Linked DNA regions of Homo sapiens: region 2 is linked to region 1. Evidence: promoter capture Hi-C in 16 types of primary human blood cells and fetal thymus (Javierre and others, 2016). All regions are on one chromosome and are shown on one strand. Each heading gives the region's core, a stretch centred on a gene start or on the middle of the fragment in contact. The rest is flanking DNA. Distances are from core to core; before and after follow the strand shown.

Region 1 (4,150 bases), core at 755-3,254:
TATCCTGGGAGCTCTGTGGCTCTGCCCTTAGCCCTCCTCTGACTCTCAGCATGGTGGGGGTGATAGGGAATGATGGAAGGTAACCCCCAGGAACAGGAGAAGGCCTCCAAAACTCCCAAAGCTCTATCAGAAGGATCTGTCTCCATGTTAACTTCATCCCTCCACAGGCTCTACCAGGGCCCAGCTATATCAACAGTGCCAACAAAAAGCCCCGTGCCCAGCTCTCACTCTCCCTCCCACCTCCCAAGCCGCAGTTAAATGTGAGATTAGGAGCTCCCCATGTGTAGTCTGAGGTGCAGCCACCTCCACATGCTGCGAGAAACCGGCCTATCAGTTCAGCCACAGTGGCAAGTGGGCGTGGCGCTTTGTACTGCTCTATCCAGTCTGACCCTTGATCTGGCATCAGCTTCTACCCTCCTTGCTTACTGTTTACAGCAAACAGCCACCGCTCTCCTGTACCAAATAACGTGCAACATCATGTGGACACATTTTGTGGGGAAAATGAAAGTGATGTGAGACTTTAGGGCTGATCCAGCCACCCCGGGAGGCAATGAAAGGAAGGGCCCCTCATCCCTCTTCATTCCCCTCCCAAAGCTGAAAACTCAGTAGAAGAACCAGAAAGCTCAGCCCTGGATTTATATGTCTCTTTGCTATGCCATCATAGCAGTATAAATGGTTAGTGTTAATGTCATTGTTCAAATTACGCTCTGTGTGGTGGCTCACGCCTGTTATCCCAGCACCTTGGGAGGCTAAGGTGGGCAGATGACTTAAACCCGGGAGTTCAAGACCTGCCTGGGAAACATGGCGAAACCCTGTCTCCACAAAAAAATACAAAAATTAGCTGGGCATAGTAGTGGATACCTGTAGTCCCAGCTACTAGGGAAGCTGAGGTGAGAGGACCACCTGAGCCTGGGAAGTCGAGGCTGTGGTGAGCCAGGATTGTGCCACTGCACTCCAGCCTGGGTGACCCTGTCTCAAAAAAAAAAAAAAAAAAAAAAGGTCAAATCAGGAAAAAATTTTGAAATAACAAACTTCCTTTTGCAGCTGCTCTTTTGTTCATCTTCTACCATAATCCCAGGCACTGAGTTTTTGTTTGCACTCGTTTGCCCTGGGCCACCTGGGGTGGTGGGGAAGGACTGAGGAGGGGAGGTCAGAACATGCAGTTCCTGTCCCAGCTATTACTGGCTCTGGAGCTCTGGGCAAGCTACTTCATCTTTCTGGTCCTCAGTTTCCCCGTCTGTAATAGAGTGATGTCAGTACCCACCGTGTATGGCACTGGGGAGGCAGTAAAGGTTTGGGTCAACCTGAGTGGGTCTGATCCCGATCCTGGCTCCACCACCCACTGCCTTCACCGCCCCGAGCAAGTTCCCTAACTCCTCTGGGCTTCGTTTTCCCCCTTGATGAAAGCAGGGCTGCTGGGAGGATGACATGAGACAATATCCAGGGCTGGCCAACAGTAAGTGCTTAAGACACATAGTAGCATTCCTCCTTCACAGGTTGTAAATTACAGAGCACGCCTATATTATCTTAGTAAATATTATTTAAATATCATACCATTCATAATATTTTAACAAGTTTTAATTAAGACACACGCTTCAGTACCCCTGCCCCGACTCCATACTGCGCTAACCAAGTGGGATTCTCCTCCTTGCCTGTGCGCTGAGCCACCGCTTACCCCGCGTCCCCTCGGACATGCAGCTCTGCCCATCAGGGCCACAGGCGGCCCGGTCCCACCATGGGGGTTGGGGATGGGAACCAGAGCATGCCCGTTCCGGGGCGCGCGTCTGGCCCCGCTCTAGGGAGCCGCGTCGGCGGGGCCCCACCCGGGCAATGTCCCGAAGCTCGACGCGCACTCACCCTCTTGACCAGGAAGCCCTCCTTGAGCACGCCGTCCTCCATGTCGCCGCCCGCACGCCAGGGCCACCCCAGGTGCGCCTTCCCCGCGCCTCGCGCTCCTCGGCACCCGCGCAGCCCGCGCAGTCCGCGCCCACGGCGCCCAGGAAGCAGCTCCGACGCGGCAGGGCGACGCCTCCCTGGCGCGTGTCCAGAGCCTGAGGCCCCGGGGCAGGAAGTCAGACCAAGTCGGGATTTCTGACGTGACGTTTCCACCCAAAGGTGCTCCAGGGTCGGTGGTTGGTCCTCCAGGTACAGAGCGGCCAACCCCGCCCCATCCAGGTGCGCCCCGCGCCCCTCACTGTTCCAGTCTCTCTGCTCAGCGTCCTTCGCCAGGTGCTTCCCGGGCACTTAGCGCATTGCCCTCGAGGAACGCTTATCGAATTGAACATAACCGACAGGACTCCAGGATTTGGAGCCATTCCTGAGCTCATTGCAAGTAGGAGATGGGACAGTGGGTGAGCCGAAACTGGTATGGGAATTTTATCCTGGCCTCTGATGGGGGCAGAGAAGACCTCTCAGTAACAGGAAGGTCACAGTTTTAAGGCGGCAGGCACAGTTTGCAGGGCCCCCTGTCCGCAGGATATACCCCGCTCCCTCAAAAAAGATGAAGCCGAAAATTCCATCATTAAGGACAAAATTTAAGGGGGCACCAAGGAGTCCAGTAACCTAGACAAATTATATATAGAGAGAGATGATTGGTTTTTTGGGGTTTTTTGTTTGTTTTTTGAGACAGGGTCTTTCTCTGTCACCCAGGCTGGAGTGCAGTGGTGTGATCATAGCTCACTGCAGCCTTAAACTCTGGGCTTAAGATCCTCCTGCCTCAGCTCCCCAAGTAGCTAGGACTACAGGAGTGCACCACCATGCCTGGCTGGTTTATTTTTATTTTTCGTAGAGATAGGGTGTTGCTATGTTGCCCAGGCTGGTCTTGATTCCTGGCCTCAAGCAATCCTCCGGCCTGGGCTTCCCAAAGTGCTGGGATTACAGGCAAGAGCCACCGTGTAAGACCTAGAAAAATAATATTTTAATGCATTTTTTAAAATCAAAATTAATGTCAAAAAATCCACGATGAACAAAATGCTAACATTTTAAATAGATAGGATCAACAACAATGTTCTATCAGGCCATATTGGAGCCTGGAACAGAAGGAAACTCAGTCAAATAGTACTGATTCTGTCTAACAATCCTTAGAACACAGTCACACATTTTTTTAAAATTTATTTTTATTTATAGAGACAGGGTCTCACTATATTGTCCAGACTGGTCTCGAACTCCTGGGCTCAAGCAGTCCTCCTGCCTCAGCCTCCCAAAGTGCTGGGATTGTGGGCATGAGTCATGGGGCCGGTCCATATTATTTGTGCTCCAGTTTGAAGGGCCCTGTCAGGACTCTTCACCAGGCATGGGAAAGGCCCTCAGATGCCTGTAAGGGAAGAGAAGGCTCTAGAGAGGAAGAAGGTGAACCAGCTTGTGGAAGGCGGGGGGTGCCTTTCAGAACCAGACTGAAGCCAGCTCCCAGGCCAGTCCCTGCCCTGGAGCTCTTGACACAGTGTTGCTTCTACATGTCTGTAGTAGACATATTACATCCCCCCAACCCCACTCCCACCTGCCAGCCCCAAGGAAAACTCGCAGGGTCTGGGTCACTGCGTGCCAGCCCAATGGCCCACTCTAGCCTTCTGCACTAACTGGCCTTCAGACTTCCCAGGAAGCCCCAAAGCAGTGGGGCTTCCATTCCAATTCAGAATGAACATCAGCTGGTCACCTTCTGAAGCCAGGCCTGTAGTAGTAGGTGCTAGGTTTTATCTAAAGTACAACAACCCCATGAGGTGTTTATTATGTCATTTTCCAGTCAAGGAAACTGAATCCAAGTAGTTAAATAACTTGCCCAAGGTTATGCAGCTCCAGGGCATTGCAAATACTCTTGCCTCCTAAGGAATTGTCCCAGCTCTGAAACCTAGCTGGGCTGAAAGCCAGGACTTGAGAGGTTGAGCTGGGAAGTTCTCATCCTCTTCGGCTCTAACTGTGGTCTATCCATCTCCTTCCTCAAAGAGGCTGTCTTGGCCCCACCCAGACACAATCTTCTGAGGCTTAGAAGAAGTGGCATTTTCTTTGGCAGGAGGGGTTCTTGAATGAATTCACAGAAATGGGAATGGGAAAGAGATGGATACCTTCTCCTGGCAGGGCTCCTGCCAGGAAGAAGTTAAGGCACACCTAGAACCTGCTTCCTGTCCTAGGAAACCCCTGGTCCAGCCCACCCTGC
Region 2 (4,150 bases), core at 770-3,269, 170 kb after region 1:
AAAAAATGCAAAAATTAGCTGGGCATGGTGGCATGTACCTGTAGTCCCAGCTACTCAGGGGGGCTGAGGTGGGAGGATCACTTAAACCTGGGAGGTTGAGGCTGCAGTGAGCTGAGATCACGCCACTGCACTCCAGCCTGGGCAACAGAGTGAGACCCTGCCTCAAAAAAAAGAAAAGAATAGAAAATAGACCAACCTCATGGGATGGCTAAGTGTGTTACTTTATGAGAGTGAAATTTTGTATAAGCACCAGCTAGTTATAGCTAAAGACTAAGTACTTCCTATACCAATTCCAGGAAATACAGAAGTAGACATCCTGACTTTCTATCAATTTGAGTAAGAAAATCCCATCCCTCCATCTCAGTATGTCTCCAGGCAAATAGTTTCCAGTAGTCTCTTGGACTCTTACCTCATCCAGTCCCCTAATCTATAACTCCAGGTACCAGATTTCCCTTACTAAATCCAGTAAGCTTAATGGTATCTTCAGAATGAACCATGCCCTCCTGTTGGTATGAGATCAGCATGACCCTGCATCTGCTCTGTGTCATACTCGGTTATATGTTTCTGGAGGCAATACAAAATAGGCTCATAAATAGTGGGAAAAGAGTACTTTATCTTTTTGGAAATAAAGGTAACAGACCCAGAGAAAGCCCCATCCCTGTTTGGAATCCCTGCTGAGTCCTGGTTTCTTATTCTCTTCTTTGTAGGCTGTACTTTCGCAGTCAAGTCAAAGGGGAGACGGACCGAGAACGGCTGCTCCTTGCCTCTCAAACCAGTAGAGAGATAGTGGCAGGGAGGTTTCCTATCAACAAGGAATTGGCTCTTGAGATGGCTGCCCTGATGGCCCAGGTAAGGTTCTGTTCAGGAAGCAGGAGGGTCGGGTTGCCAGCTTAGAATGAATGCACCATGCAGCCTGAAACACAGGAGAGATTCTGCAGATCCTGTGGTGCTCAGGAGAGGGCAGCTTTGCCATCTCTGGGATGGAAAGCAGCTGACTTCTACAGATCAGAGCTCCTCACTCACCGCAGATATAGGATGCGTGCAGATGGCTGGACTTGGAATCCAGAGACCTGGGTTTGAGTCCTATATACCTTCCAACTATGAGGTCTTAGCCAAGTCACTTCACTTCTCTATGCTTTAGTTTCCTTCTCAGTATACCAAAATAAAAAATACTTGGCCGGGAGCAGTGGCTCATGCCTGTAATGTCAGCACTTTGCGAGGCCGAGGCGGGCAGATCACCTGAGGCCAGGAGTTCGTGACCAGCCTGACCAGTGAAACCCTGTCTCTACTGAAAAAAAATAAAATAAAATAAAATAAAAATAAAAATTAGCTGGGTGTGGTGGTGGGCGCCTGTAATCCCAGCTACTCGGCAGGCTGAGGCAGGAGAATCACTTGTACCTGGGAGGCAGAGGTTGCAGTGAGCCAAGATCATGCCATTGCACTACAGCCTAGGCGACAACAGCAAAACTCTGTCTCAAAACAAAACAAAACAAACAAACAAACAAAAACCTCTGCCAGCCTCCACAGGGTTGTACTAAGTATGATACCTGGATAATTGTATCATGTAATGTATGTGGTAAACTTCATAAACCATCAGACCTTCTAAGTAGACTTAGGAAGAGGAACACACATTCAGACTTGGACTCTCCTTCCCATTATATTTAGAAGGCCATCTTGCCAAAGGTATCTGGGATACCTTCATGACTCCCATAAGAGAGTCTGACACCTACTATATACCCACAAAAATTAAAAATTAAAAATTTTTAAAAAAGAATAAGAATCTGGATTTACATGCTGGAAAGGAAGAGGAAACAGTAATAGTTGATCTTTATAAATATCAATAGGAATACTCTCTAGGAGGCCCTGTACTAAGCATATATGCATCCTCCATTGTAGTTTTTATTCCCACCTAATAGATGAGGAAATTGAAGCTCAGAGAGTTTAAGTAACTTGATCAGGGACACAAAGCTGGGATTTGCGCCAGGTGTCCAACTCCAAAGGCCACATTTGGAACACTCTGCTGTACTCTAGGATCTGTAGCATCTTCAATTCTATAGCCCATATTTTTGGACTGGAAGCCAGAATTTCCACATTGTTTTCCCTTGTCGGCTACCAATTAACTGTGTCTTTGGAAAAGGCACTTCACCTCAGCTGCAAAATCAAAGTTGGTCGGTGATCTCTAATATTCGAGGGCCCTAAGTTTGTTTCTCTAGTGTCTATAAAACTTGAGATGAAGCGTTTTTCTAAAGTATTTTTCACAACCACTCGCACCCCACCAATAGGGTAATAAAGAAATGGTTTATTTCACCTCTCAACAGCCCCCACCTGGCCCATCCACTGTCAGATTTTGACTGGTCTCTTCATATGCTTCTACCACAGGTAGAATATGGGGACTTGGAGAAGCCTGCCCTGCCAGGCCCTGGAGGCACATCCCCTGCCAAGGCTCAGCATCTTCTCCAGCAGGTCCTAGACAGGTTCCACCCCAGGCGCTATAGACATGGGGCCCCCGCTGAACAGCTGAGGTAGGTAGGCTACAAGGTCTTGCAGCAAGTCACTGTGGGGAGGTCTCAGGCCTGGAATGAAGACACGTCGGCACTTCATTGGCACTATTTCTCTCCATCTGCCCACACCAGGCACCTGGCAGATATGTTGACCACAAAATGGGCAACATTGCAAGGATGCTCCCCTCCTGAGTGCATCCGCATCTACCTGACCGTGGCCAGGAAATGGCCTTTCTTTGGTGCTAAACTTTTTGCTGCTCAGGTAAGTGCCAGTGGAAGGAGCTGCCCACACCCTTAGGTGTGTCCCCAACTGCTCATGTTTGAGCCATACCAATTTGCAGCCCCTACCTCCATACCAGTAACCACCAGAGGTCACTATCCCTCCACTGTTTCTGGCCTAGTCCAGCTTTCCACAGTCCAGAGCAGAATTGTGATTGCTTATCTTCATTTGTCCTTTGTTGACTGCCCCAAAAGAAAAGATGTGATCAACTAATTCACACACACAAAGATTCAGACTTGAAATAACAGCCCTCTCAAGAGTGCTTTCATTTTTTTTAAAGTTTGAAAGAACAATGTATAACCTAAACAAATACATCTCCACTGGTTTGACATGGCATACAGGGGAATCAAATTACTTAGCCAACAGTTAATTTCACCTCTGTATGAAGGCCAGGTGGCCAACAGTAATTTCAGAAGGAACTTTTCTTCACTGGGTGTCTGTTGTGCATAAACTTTATAGATAATTACAGCTCAAAGCTGGGCAGTGATCCTGTTTACTGAAGCCACAGATCGGAAAATGGCCATTCATTCATTCAACAAATAGTTGAGCTCCTACTATGTCCAGTGCTGGTTGTTTGAGGTTATAAGAAGTGAGAAAATCAGACACAGTCCTTGCCTTCCTGGAGCTTCCCATCTAGTGCAGGAGATGTATATTCATCAAATAATCGTATTCATTTTTTTCTCTATGTATTTAATATATATTTATAAGCCATCACAAATGCTATGAAGATGTACAGAGGTGTTATAAAGGCATATAACAGGGACCCACTTGGTCTGGGAGCTTAGGAAAAGCTTCTGAAAAAGGTGGCATGTCCAATGTCTATCTGCCTCCCTTTGGGTTAAGAGAGAGATTTTCTGGATTACCATACTGTAGTCCTGGCAGTGAAAATTAGTCATTACAGGAATGTCCACTAAATAGTCACTTTCTTACTGATAGGGCCTAAAGCCACAGGACTGCATTCTTGCTTTCCTATTTCTTTTACAGCACCTAGGAGATTGGCTGAAGTCAGAAGCACTTCGGCTTGGAGACTATAGGTGGAATGCCGTGTTTCCAAGACTAGGAGAAAACCAGCTGTTCCCCATTCCCCTAACAGAGCAGCTAGGGCTGGCCTCTATTCTGTAGCACAGAGCTTTCCATCCAGTGTGCTGTGGCAGCATGGGTTCTAGGGACATCAAAAGAATGATCGCCTCTGCCTTTGAGATGGTTAGTAGGTGGCCAGAGCCCCAAGGCCAAGGGTCTCCTGTCACAAGCAGCCTTGTCTATTTCCTGCATACACTGTACAAATATCATCTTTGTTTTCCAAGATGAGGTGGCTGGAAATCACTGCTTAGCAGATCCCTGGATGTGCCTTCTTTCTCAGAAAGTTATT

The links. The method cuts DNA at HindIII sites, captures the fragments that hold promoters and counts their contacts. A CHiCAGO score of 5 or more calls a contact.
Region 2: a fragment that was not itself captured here is called in contact with the fragment with the promoter of PLEK2 in region 1 in 12 of 17 cell types (naive B cells, M0 macrophages, fetal thymus and 9 more); the score reaches 9.1 in naive B cells.

Annotation. Positions count from the first base shown.
Region 1 is chr14:67,410,161-67,414,310 of GRCh38, forward strand. It overlaps PLEK2 (pleckstrin 2), which reads right to left and starts at 2,005. Exons shown (of 9, transcript NM_016445.3): 1 at 1,858-2,005. The coding sequence starts at 1,899. It also overlaps a transcript of GPHN not described here. The HindIII fragment of the contact is 5,074 bases long and covers 1-4,150 here.
Region 2 is chr14:67,581,362-67,585,511 of GRCh38, forward strand. PLEKHH1 (pleckstrin homology, MyTH4 and FERM domain containing H1) reads left to right here. Exons shown (of 29, transcript NM_020715.3): 24 at 708-849; 25 at 2,380-2,522; 26 at 2,634-2,763. It also overlaps a transcript of GPHN not described here. Among named protein-coding and RNA genes, the nearest start is that of PIGH, 17 kb to the right of the region's middle. RefSeq lists a silencer at 2,918-2,967. The HindIII fragment of the contact is 3,102 bases long and covers 469-3,570 here.